Linked DNA regions of Homo sapiens: regions 1 and 2 are each linked to region 3. The links are contacts of gene promoters, found by promoter capture Hi-C in blood cells and fetal thymus (Javierre and others, 2016). All regions are on one chromosome and are shown on one strand. Each heading gives the region's core, a stretch centred on a gene start or on the middle of the fragment in contact. The rest is flanking DNA. Distances are from core to core; before and after follow the strand shown.

What was found. Contacts are between HindIII fragments. The CHiCAGO score rates a contact against its expected background, and 5 or more counts as called.
Region 1: a fragment that was not itself captured here is called in contact with the fragment with the promoter of SGO1 in region 3 in 1 of 17 cell types (fetal thymus); the score reaches 5.1 in fetal thymus.
Region 2: a contact is called between a fragment that was not itself captured here and the fragment with the promoter of SGO1 in region 3, in 1 of 17 cell types (non-activated CD4 T cells). The highest score is 7.4, in non-activated CD4 T cells.

What each region holds. Positions count from the first base shown.
Region 1 is chr3:17,231,719-17,235,617 of GRCh38, forward strand. TBC1D5 (TBC1 domain family member 5) reads right to left here. Exons shown (of 23, transcript NM_001349074.2): 18 at 1,967-2,032. Among named protein-coding and RNA genes, the nearest start is that of PLCL2-AS1, 180 kb to the left of the region's middle. RefSeq lists enhancers at 219-513, 888-957, 1,957-2,026. The HindIII fragment of the contact is 1,211 bases long and covers 953-2,163 here.
Region 2 is chr3:17,734,871-17,739,352 of GRCh38, forward strand. All of the region lies in intron 1 of TBC1D5 (TBC1 domain family member 5), which reads right to left. Among named protein-coding and RNA genes, the nearest start is that of TBC1D5, 5.5 kb to the right of the region's middle. The HindIII fragment of the contact is 4,840 bases long and covers 1-4,386 here.
Region 3 is chr3:20,184,630-20,188,833 of GRCh38, forward strand. It overlaps SGO1 (shugoshin 1), which reads right to left and starts at 1,577. Exons shown (of 8, transcript NM_001199251.3): 1 at 1,319-1,577. It overlaps SGO1-AS1 (SGO1 antisense RNA 1), which reads left to right. Exons shown (of 4, transcript NR_132785.1): 4 at 1,346-1,486. RefSeq lists enhancers at 1,295-1,974, 1,995-2,054. The HindIII fragment of the contact is 754 bases long and covers 1,101-1,854 here.

The DNA.
Region 1 (3,899 bases), core at 308-2,807, 3.0 Mb before region 3:
TTGAGGAAGACAAAAAGTGACTTCCCCAAATCAGGTAGGTGTACTCTCATTGTCTATCATTGTCAAAATCATCACCACAGACTAAAAGCTGTTTATTTGTGATTCACATCTATTAAAGTAGCTGGAACTTTCCTTATCAGACTGATACAATCTCTGCTAGGGTATGGGAGGCAGAGGTGATTCTGAATAGGGTATCTAGTAAAAGAGCTGGTTCCCGACTATGTAGGCTTAACTGGGTCACCTAAAGCAAAGGTAATGCCCAACCAACCAGGTAAAGCTGTAAGGAAAGCCAAGGGACCAGTGAAAACAGAGCTTGACACAGCAGCAGGCACTCAATAAATACTTGTTGAATAAACAAATGAGATAATTCTACTTATATAACACGAGGTATTTGAACAAAACAATATAACCTCCCTCTTTGAAGTTCTAGTTAAACAGTTACGTTACTCCTGTGGCTCTGGTTTGTAGGAAAAAAACTGGATTTATTAATAGCATAGAAGCAGAAGTCAGAATAAGCAAGCCAACTCTTAGCTTTTCTTTCCATAGGTATAAATTGGGCTCCATATCCTATGTCTTGCAGAGAAGCCAAAGATCTACTCTGTAGCAATTAATGTTGGGACAACAACACACATGTTAAAAAGTTGTCTGTGGGGCTCAGAATTTAATTTTAGAAAACAAATTTAAGTCTTGTAAATTCTCTCCATATCAGATGATCACATTAACATTCATCTCAGTGCAAAGCTAAAGAGAAATCATGTAGACATTATCTGCCTTTCCTCTTGTCCATGCTATTATACCCTTCTATTATGTAGATCATTTAACAGACAGCAAGAGTGAACAGCTCTTCATGGAATCCCTGAGCTAGAAAAGCCCTTGAAGTTCATCTGGTTCAATTACCAGAATACCTCCAGAAACTATACCTGTGAGACACAGAACTATATATAGAAGTGAAAGCTTACTCCTCTATTGCCACAATGTGGTGGGTTTTTGTTTTTTAAGTTAACCCAATACATCAATCTCTTAATCACAACCCATTCTTTTCTGTTCCACCCCCCCTAAAAAAATGGATAATATGAGGACATATCATTATTAAAACAGTATTTTAATACTACTAGCATCACTATATTATGTGGTATTTTAAATTAAGAAAAACATGGTATGGATTTTAATTAATACTGCTATCATTTTAGTCTGAATTTGAATAGAAGATTCTTAAAGTTACTCTAGGCTTCCATTTAACACAGAAATCCTCTCTATCGCATATTTCATCTAAAAGACTGCATAATAAAAGATTAATGCAGCCACTTTAAGTATTTATATGTTTTAAAATTGCATAGGAGGTAGATGATCACTTTTTGTATTTATTTAAAAACTATATTTTCTATATTTTGAACAAATGGATATGATATTTAAACATTCTTTTTTTAAAACCATTGCCAGTTACCATAAATGAAGATTTGCTACACTGTACTTTAATTGTGTTAACATAATGCGTAATTCAAAGGCAATACTTAAAAACATTTCAAAATCAGGTTGTAATTATTTCAGGCAAAATGTAAGTATTTCTGGCTAATCGTAGCACATAAGATGTCTATTTTCAGAACTAATTGGTCAAATACTGTCACAGAGCACCAGTGTAACAAAAAGAACACCTCAGTGTGAGCTGGCACACAAAGTATACTATGTTATAATAACCACAAAATACAGGGTGAATCATATTTTGCAAAGAGGCTTGTGCACACCTAATAGAAAACCCACATCACAGCCATATTCGGCATCACCAAGGTATGACATGAGAGGGGACTTTTGTTCTTAACAATAGTGCCACTCAGTGGCTGAACAATGGTAGTGAATTGAAAACAGTATGAATGGAGGGTGGGCAAAAAGAAAAATGGAGTTTTGGAGTAGGCAATGATAATACTGTAGGCAAAGAAAAAGAAACACTATGTTGTTATGGTAACTGTACCTTGGAGGTCAGTTAGAGTCTGGACAGGAACAGAAACCTGAGCATCGCTTCCTGTAACTACATCGCCTGGATTTCATAAGAAAAAATAATTAGATTTCATAAAAAGGAAATAATCAACTTCACTTTTCTTTTATACTGAATGTTCTAATACTTTAATCAAATTACTAAAAATATAGTACAAAAGAAAATAATGCACAAGCTTAGAAAAATATAAAATATTTTCAAAGAAAATAATCTTTAAGAGCATGTTTTCTAGAAATGTTTTGTGTTTGTTTTTCTTAAAGAAAACACAAACAAGTTTCAACTAGAGTATAGGAAACTTCAGCAATCAAAAGATTTTGCTGAGCATATTTCATGATGCTACAAATATTAGTGTGATTTTATATTTTCCCTTTCATCCAAAAGTAAGTTATATGTCATTTATTTAAAAATAGGCATTCTTTTGAAATTGATTTCCTCCTATATCAGACAAAATTTATTTTTAACTAACTTGAAACCAACTTCTTCAGTGATAAGATAAAGTCCTCAATAAGTTCTAATTTCACATTAAGTAATGAAAAGATTTAAGTTACCACATGTACTTATAAATGTCAACATGTAAAAATAAACCTGTGAACTGCATACCCTTCACTTGATATACTTATTGTAGGCAAGATTTCATTTACAAATTGGACTTATAGTAAGTGCTTAAAATAATGACATGTTCAAATTAAAAAAGCAATTTAAAATATAGACAAAGGAAACAGGAAAAAAAAAAAACCAAGTGCATTTTAAGAACATAAGAAAGGAAAAGGAGCATAACAGGAAATCTCATGAAGAACCTGAGGTGCACTAACATTTGGAAGGAAGACTTTTTGGTTCTTTGATTTCCTTCCTGGATGACAAAGTTCAACACTAAGCACAGTCACTGTCAACAGAATCATTCTCTGGATATATCACCATCTGAAGGCCTATGCTATTTTCAGACTAACAGGCTAAAGAAAAAAGCATTTTAAAAAAGCATCATATTTTCTATGCATGATCATTTATGATTAATTGACTTGTTTCCCCTTGAGCTTTTATATAATATATACAGTAGTAAAAAAAATCAACTTTTGAGTTAAATGACATATCCTCAGTGTTCTGACCACTATGACTTACAGCATGGCCAGCTAATCCGGAAACTGTTAAGTTGTAATTATACCATCATCATCAATTAACAGTACACACATTTAGTCTCCTATAATTGAAATAAAATCTATAAATAGGAACATACCACAAACAAGTGATAAACAGCTTTTAGTGGAAATGGGCCCCAGATTTTCATAGTATATGTACTCTAAATTCACTGATAATGGCGTGCCTACTTTCTGTATCTTTGAAGGAGATTTTCAATTCTGTGCCTGCTACCTGTTTTACTCTGCTGCTTCTAGATCACTTATTAATGTATAGAGACTGACAACTCATTTTAACATTAAATATCACCAAAACAATTACAGGGAACATCTGGGCTGCTCCTTCACTATCCTACCCCAACACAAAGACAAACTACAGAATGTACTTCAAGCAACACATGTGAGTTTGGATTACAAACACAACTGTCCCCCTATCTAAGCATACAAGCACAAGTAATTGAAAGTTAACTGATTATGAAAACCATAAACAGTTTCATCTTTATAAACAACCATTTTTCAACATAACTTTCAAATTTTCCAGCAGAGTACACTAAAAAGACTATTACATTATCTTTCCTCAAAGGCACTAAGTAGATGACTCTGTTCTGAGAGAGAAATCACTTCACAACACAAGCCTCCTGACAGGCTGAATATTGTGTTCACTGATCTATGGGACCAGGTGATATGCTTGCAGCTTTCAGTGTGACAGCACAGCAGGATACATGTGGGAAATACCAGCATAAAGAACCAATGTTGGAGAAGTATTTTTCACTGTAGAG
Region 2 (4,482 bases), core at 717-3,216, 2.4 Mb before region 3:
AGCCCCGACGTTTGAGACCAGCCTGGGCAACATAGAGAGACATGGTCTCTACGACAAAAAAAAAAAAATTTAATTAGCTGGGCATGGTGGCATGTGCCTGTGGTCTCAGCTACTCAGAAGGCCGAGGTGGAAGGATCACTTGAGCCTAGGAGCTCAAGGACGCAGTGAGCTGTGATCGTGCCACTGCATTCCAGCCTGGGCAACAGAGCAAGACCTTGTCTTAAAAAAAATAATAAAAATGAAAAATAAAGATGAGAAAATCTTTTGACCCAGCAATTCCACCCATAACAATTTCTCCTAAATAAATAATGCATAGGCACAGAGGGATATTAGCTATAATAGTGTTCAACGTAGCACTATTTATCATGAAGAATGAAAGAAATCTAGGTGTCTAAGAATGGAGGACTACTTATGGTACATTCATACAATGAAATAGTATGGGGCCACTAAAAGTTACGTAGAAAACTAATGACATGAGTAATATCGTATTAGGTGAAAAACAACTGCAAACAACAAAATAGCTGAATCCATTTCAGTTTTTTTAAAAAGGTATATGAGGCTGGAATGAGGTATAATTGTTATGAGTGGGTCTTTGTTCTTAGAACTCCCCCAAGATGGTGGCGGCCACTCCCAAGATGGCAGCAAGCCTTTTGTTCTCTGACCTGGGGTTCTTGGCCTCACAGATTCCAAGGAATGGAACCTTGGGCCTTACGGTGAGTGTTATAGCTCTATTAGAAGCCATGGGTCACAGAAGAGAACCATGGAACCCAGAGACTAGTGTTCAGCTCAATTAGGACGAACCCAGGCATTTAGCCATGCAAGAACAATGGCGAGTCTTTAGCCCGATCAGGAGCAGCAATGGGCACCTCGCTGGATCAGGAGCACAGCGGACACCCTGCTGGATCTGGAGGGGTGGAAGTCAGCAGCAGGTGTGCGACGACAGCAAACAGCAGTGGTGGATGGCGAGCGAAAGCTCAGCTCGAGAAGTAACAAACACGGACCAGAAGAGTGTGCAGTGGCAAGATTTAATAGAGTGAAAACAGGGCTCCCATACAAGGGAGGGGACCCAAAGGGGGTTGCCGCTCCCTGCTCTAATGCCTGGGTTTATATCCCAATCATTGTCCCTCCCACTGTGCTCTCAGGCAATATACGATTTGACTATTTCTTTACCTCCTGCTTTAGAATAATTTGTATTTTAGTGAGCCCTCTTTACTACCTGATTGGTTGGGTATGAGCTGAGTTACAAGCCCTGTGTTTAAAGGCAGATGCAGTCACCTTCCCCAGCTAGGCTTAAGAATTCTTAGTCGGCCTAGGAAATCCAGCTAGTCCTGCCTCTCATAATCATACCACTGCACTCCAGCCTGAGTAACAGAGTGAGACCTTGTCTCTAAAAAATAAAATTTAATAAAATTAAAATTAAAAAGGTAGATCTATAGGTACACACAAACTTGCACACACACATGCCACAGGATAAAGAGACTTAAATTAACCCCAATCTTAGAGAAATGAAGGTGGGTGAGGAGGCAATTTGACCCAAGTCTTCCTAAGTCACCCCATCTATTTATAAAAATGAGCACTCTTACCTTTAGACTCTTGTTCCTCATGGAAGTAAAAGGGGTCTAGTTTAATGAATATGCAGTAGACAAACATGGAAATAGTGGCACTACCTTTCCATCTCCTATCAACTCCACGTCTCCAACCTTGTTCCCCAAAGCTCCACCAGGGATCCAAGGCAATCAATCCACTATCCCATCCCAGGATGGCAAGAGATGTAACGTTAGGAACTCCTCTAGAACTTCTGCCAGGTAGCTGCTGGGACACCTCCAAAGTCTCAATATAAAGTCAAAACACTTCCTGGAGGCCTGGTGCAATGGCTCATGCCTGTAATTCCAGCACTCCAGGAAGCTGGGGCGGGTGGATCACCTGAGTCAGGAGTTTGAGACCAGCCTGAACAACATGGTGAAACCCCGTCTCTACTAAAAATACAAAAAAATTAGCTGGGCTTGGTGGCATGTACCTATAGTCCCAGCCACTCAGGAGGCTGAGGCAGGAGAATCACTTGAACCCAGGAGGCAGAGGTTGCAGTGAGTAGAGATCGCGCCACTGCACTCCAGCCTGGGTGACAGAGTGAGACTCTGTCTCAATTTAAAAAAAAGACAAAAAAAACACTTCCCACCTGTTGTGGGAAACTCTAAAGGGGTTCATTCTGATCCCCACTTATCAGCAAACAGAATGCATACCTCTGCAGCCGGTTCCTAAGATATGTGCTTATTCCAACTCCATCAGGTGGGAGCCGTTTTTCTCTGATGTATCTTCCCCATGGTGCTTATGTCAGAAGTGGGGGCTTACTTCTCACTGGTCTAGTTATTCTGAAGACTCACAATTAGAAGTGGGAATCTAAGTACTTTTGGTTCAACCTTTTTATCTTACTTAGGGACAAAAAGTTTAGTAACCCTAGAAGATAAAACACTCCTGCTTAACCAACATGTGTTACTCAGCTTTCTAAACTAATACTTGTGGTACAAAACTGACATTCATTTTGCAGTATCTCTCAAGGCAAGACAGCCCTGAAGAGAACCTTAAGAAATTCTCAACAGTGCAGATAATTATTTTTCATCATTTGTTTTTATAAAATTTCAACAATAGGCATTACTTTCTATAATGGGGGGAGGTGGCTCTTTTTTCTAATGGCAGGCTAACCTAACATACTGTGATTACTGGATCTAATACATGCACTCATAGCAGAATTTTCTTTAGACATACATACACACTACTCTTCCATAAAGTATCATAAAATTACATCATTCCATTTTAAAAAGTCAATCACTCTTCTTCATGTAGCCTTCATCACTAGCAAAAAAGTAAAGGTAAACACTCTTGTCTTAACAAAAAAACTATGATAACATGTAATCATCTGTAATGCCTATTTCAAAACTTTTAAGACTATTTTGTTTCAAAAAAAAAAAAACCCAGTTAACATCTTTTCTAGGCAACTGAATTAAGAAAAAGAGTAAATCTGCAATTACTGAATATTTTCCTGGAGTTAGCCACAGAAACCACATGCAACACTGGACAATGACTGAATGACATTATCTTTAGATGTTTTTCATCCAAACTAATGGACATTCAGAAAAAAAGGTGATCCTGTACTAGGCTTCGCAACACTACCCTTGAAAGATTTTAACCAATCCTTTCACACCATCACCAAAGACATGTTTTTTTCTACAGCCCTACTTTCTTGTTTTGAAAGATCTGAGCTGTCAAACTATATTTATTTGCATTTAATTCTCCAAAGGGATAAGAGCATTACTATACCAATTTTGTATTTTCATCCAAAAAGTACAAACTCTGCTTTCTTGGCCCATAGAGCCTTATCCCAAATAAACTGTACAATCTCCAAAAATATAGTCAGTCTTGATTATATAGATATGATCTACCACACTGTAGATTATCCACAGAATATCTATCACTTACGTGATAGCATTAAGGGCTTTAAACACACACTCACACATACACACACACACACACACACTCTCTCTCTCTCTCTAATTCTCAAAGTTACTATTATTTTCCCCATTTTAAAGATGAGAAAAGTGAGGCACTGTGAGACTAAGTAGCTGACCAGCATGGCATTATAACACATATCATAATCATACAGAATTTGTAAAAATATTAAAATTATTATTAATAGCTGAAAATACCAATTAGAAGGCTTCCATCATTCGGATGTGCAACAAATGCTTCCCTGGGATAACCGTAAGTAATGACTTGGCCATTCAGCTGTGAGGCCCAGAAAGCATGGCAGAGCTGGTATGTCCATGCAGCCCACAACACAGCATCAGGGTAAGAAATAAAAAAGCCAACAAGTGGGCATGCAGCAAGGGTTTCAACTCTATCCTAATATTCCAAAAGAACAAGAGAGAATTTGGGACAATCTTAACCTCTGATGATAATCTCTGAGCCTCTTTTTATCCCTCAATTTATATAATGTTTAATGTTACTAAATCATTGCACAGGAATTATTTTTAAATGTTTACCTAACATTTGTAGAATGATAAACATTTTCCTAAACACTTCACAGGTTTTTGAGAAAGCATTTACACTGAGATTTGTTGTTACACTGACATCCTTCCCAAATTCACCATTATTCTAGTAATAATTGATGCTACTAGAAGCAGCCCACAGGCCCTCTCCGTCAAATGATCTCCCTCCCCTCTCCCAGCTCTTCCACTGCTGACCATCCCACCACCCCGACCTCACATTTCTCAAGTTCTGGTACACACACTGTACACACTGCCATTCCAATGATCTACCCATGTTGAGAGAAATGTCTCAGGATCAGGTGGACTAGCACCACTTCTCAGACTGCTGCTGCTAACAGGACAAAGCTTTCAGTGGTCTGAGACAAAAAGGGGGTTAAGAGAAGGGATTATATATTCATTTTTAAATGAAACATAAATTATTCAACTTACTTTTATTCCG
Region 3 (4,204 bases), core at 327-2,826:
AATAGGCTATTGTAACAAGTACAGAGCTAGAGCAGGAACTTGGGCAGAGGAACACTCTAGTATTCTCAAACTGTGGCTAAAAGTTAGGGCTGTTAACTCCCAGTAAATTATGAACATAACAAATCAGACATTAAATATTGTTGTACATACAGTTAAACGTTGAGTATTAAATACATAACTATACTTAATCTTTCAACGTTGCAAATCAGGTAGGCTTTAGCATGCTACTAAACATGTCAAACCACTTTTCACAAACATCTTTTACGCTAGATTGCACTTTGCAGATCTTAAAATTGCAAAAAAAAAAGACTTGTTTCCAATAACAATCTATGCACAGAATTTTCACTACAAAGGATATCTTCATCTCCTCTACGATAGTCAAATATTTTCCTAAACCTTACACTTAATCTTGAGTATTTCCTCCAGGCCTTATTTTCCTCTATGCAGTGTCTGGAATCTTAAATATAGGTATTGTAGATACCACTTAAGAACTTTCTTTCTACCAAGGTATATACAATATGTACTGGGAGGTTCCTAGCAGAGATAGGGTAGCTATTTTTAAAAGCACGAACGGTAAAGGGGTTGTTTTACACAATTAAGTTAGAATTGGAGATGTTTGAGAGTCATACAGATTAAGTAACGGATCTAGTTTAGTTAAGGTATTTTAAAGGCAAAGCCTTACCTAAAAAGCTTTCGTTATTACTTTTAATCAAGTTAAAAATCACAAAAGAAACTTGCCATATCAAAAGTTTTATATCCTGTCTAAATAAGGCGATGGTTATTAGCAGGGGGTGTGGTAGACAGAAGGGATGAAAGCAAAGACAGACCACAGCGCGAGATGACGGTCTCAATCTGTACAGTACTCGTGTAAGCGCTCTGGATTTAAAGAACCTAGCATATTTGATCTCCGTCCATAATTCTCCAATTAGTCCTGCTGCGAAGACAGCCAGGTAGGATACTAGTCAGTGCCGGCCTCTCCAGGGTAAGTGAGGAAGAGAATGGCCTGGACAAGGAGGACGTCAACGGTATCACGCTGCACAAAGAACTGCTGTCAATTTTCTTGTGTCCTTACGTTGAGCCAGGCTTTTAGCTATTGTAAAAGCTTTATTTGCACATCACTTAATCTACACAATTTTGCAAAGTAGGAAATTAGGGTCTCCATGGAAGCCGGAACATCTGAAAGCGCAGATCGAGTGGCTGAACGGCGAAAAGCGCGGCGAGTGGGACTCCACGGCCCGAGCTTTCGGCCACCGAATTTAGAATGATACTGAAAACCGAAGGGAAGTCAAACAGGGATCACTACGCCCTTGTTTCGCACCTTAAAACCTACTTCTTCCTCTTTCAGGGACTCCAGGAAGGCCGGGGGGAGGTGGGGCTGGCGGAAGTGGACGCGGCGACCCTCCTGCCGCAGGCGCGTCCAGAACGATACCTTGGCCACTACTTCTGCAACAGCTATCTTCCTCCTCCTCACATTTCAAGGCTCTTCGAAGCTCTCCAGCCACGGCTAGCCCCGCGCACTGGGCCCTCCAGGACCGTACCACCGTCCGCCGTCGCCTGGAACTACCGCCGCCACATTCGAAATTTTCCGCCTCGCTCCTCCATTGGTTGGCTGGGAGGCGGTCACGTGGCGCAGGATGCACCCAACACCACCGTCGCAGGCAGAGTCCCGCCCCGCCAGGCGACGTCACGTGACGCACATTCGCTCAAGTCCACATCCGGGCATCCACCTGGCCCTGGGGCGGAGCCTGCGGTCGGGTCTCGGCGACCCGCCGGGACTTTCTAATCAGAGTCGTGGGGATTTTACGGGTGGAGTTACTCCGAAACCTTTAAGGCCGAGTGTGATAGGTAGTTCAAAGCTTCCTGTTTCTTCAGTCTGACAGCTTCAAATGTCCCGGGTTGTGCTCAAAGCCTCCCTCTTGTGAGAAGAATCTCTTTGGTTGCCTGTTAAAGCGGTCAGCCAGCTTGCAACACGGAAGCAGCTTTTAGAGGAATTAAAACCAAAACAAGGAGCAAATTCTGGATTAAAAAGGTATTAGGGAAACTGCAGATACCTGAAAATTCTAGCTCCATGTTTCTCTTTGCCGGCTATCTCTGGCTCTTTAACTCTTCTCGAGAAATGGCACCAACATCCATCCAGTTACCGACTAGAAGCCTGAGAAATCGTCCTTAATGATTATTTATCCTCTCTTAACCTTTGCCCGTCCAGTCGGTCACACGATCTTCTCAACTCTGCTTTCCAAGTTTCTCTCATGCCCATCTTTTTCCCCCCAATCCAGCTTCCAGCCTAATCTCATTCCCTAAATTGCACTAGTACCCACTCTGACCGCAGACTCCACTCCCTATATTCTTCATAGATTAATATTTTTACAAAACAAGTATCAAATAGGAAACTTTACAATGGCTCCCTATTGCATTTAAGGTGAATTTCAAACTCCTTTAAGATATTTTGTCCTTAAAGAGCCCCATGATTCCTGGTTCCATCACTTGTACATTTTCTTTAATTTTCTTAAAATTCTTGCCACTTTTGCCAATGCTGTTCTGTCAAGAACACTCTTTCCCTTGGCCGAACTTACTCCTATGTATACTGAAGTTTCACTGTACAGATGAATTCTTCCAGAAAGACTTATCTACCCCTAAAGCCCCTGAGTGTCTGCTTTACACTTTCTTAGTGCCCTGCATTTTCCCCTTGGTATTCCTTGTGACACTGACTTGTCGTTCATTGCCTGTTTCTTGAAGTTGAATAAGGGCAGGAACTACATCTGCTTTGTTCATAGCTAAATTGTCAGCATCTCGTTGCAATTTGAAGTAAGTAGTAAATATTCACTGGGACAATAAAGGAACAAATAAATGAAAACGAAACAAATGTTTTGAATCTAGGCATTCTTTATGAAGGTGTGTTGTTGTTTTTTAAAGGTAGCTAACACATGCTTGCTCTAGTCTGGGTACCCATCCTGGCTTGAGTGGAAGAGGCTGAAACACCCTTCTCCAGCCAACAACTCCCTCGTTTTCCAAGTTAACCAGACCAACTCCATTAACCCTCAGTTTACTGCCACTGGGCAATGTGGCTTATATGTGTAGAAGCATCAAGAAGGAATGGGCAGAGAGGTTTTTTGTTGTTTGAGGTCAGAAAATTATGAAGTGGAACATGAGAGCAGAGAATAGGGCCAGCTTCATGAGCAGGCAACCGGTGCTTAGAAGGGCTGTACATTTGGTTTAATGCTCTGCTGTTGCCGTCTTGAAATGCTTAGGAGTTTATATTTGAACTTATGTTTTGTAAGTGATGTCTGATGAGACAATGGAGCAATCTTGTGAGCAGATGTGATTCATGCAATGTGTGTGTCTGTCACTGTTTCTTGCCCCATGTCATACAATGTTCAGGATGCGCACTAAATGGCCTCCATGAACCACTTATTTTGTAGTTAGGGACCTAAGTACAAAGTGCTCAGAAGGGCTCACCCTTGCCCTCTTGAAATTATTATTATTTTCTTTGAGACGGAGTTTTGCTGTGTCTCCCAGGTTGGAGTGCAGTGACATCATCTTAGCTCACTGCAACCTCTGCCTCCCAGGTTCAAGCAGTTCTCCTGCCTCAGCCTCCCAGGTAGCTGGGATTACAGGGACCCACCACTACGCCCCCTAATTTTTGTATTTTTTTGTAGAGACAGAGTTTTGCCATGTTGCCTAGGCTGGTCTCAAACTCCTGAGCTCAAGTGATCTGTCTGCCTCAGCCTTCCAAACTGGGATTACAGGCTAAGCCATCATGCCCAACCACGTTACTATATTTTCTAACCACTTACACTAAAAGTGATGGCATGAAAGGAAAAGGAAAGATAAGACATTCCACAATTCCTTTTCTTTTCAGTCTTTCTCTACTTATCGGTAAGCTGAAGGTTTTTGTCTTGGATTTTGAACAAGGAGCATCATATTTTCATTTCACATTGACCCACACAGATTATATAGCTGGCCCTGACCAAAGGCTTTGAGGTTCTGACTTTTTGAGGGGTGTCTTCCCCGTTCCCAATTTAAAAATGGGTCAGACTTCAAATCAGGTGTTTATTATAGAGCCCTAAAGAATAGAAATGGCTGAATTTAGGGGCAGTGAGGGAAAATACCACCAGAGTCCTAGCATGAGTAACTTTTGTACATCAAAATGTTCTACTGCCGCTGATTTTAGGGAACTGAATTACTGTTGGAATCAATAGCTCTT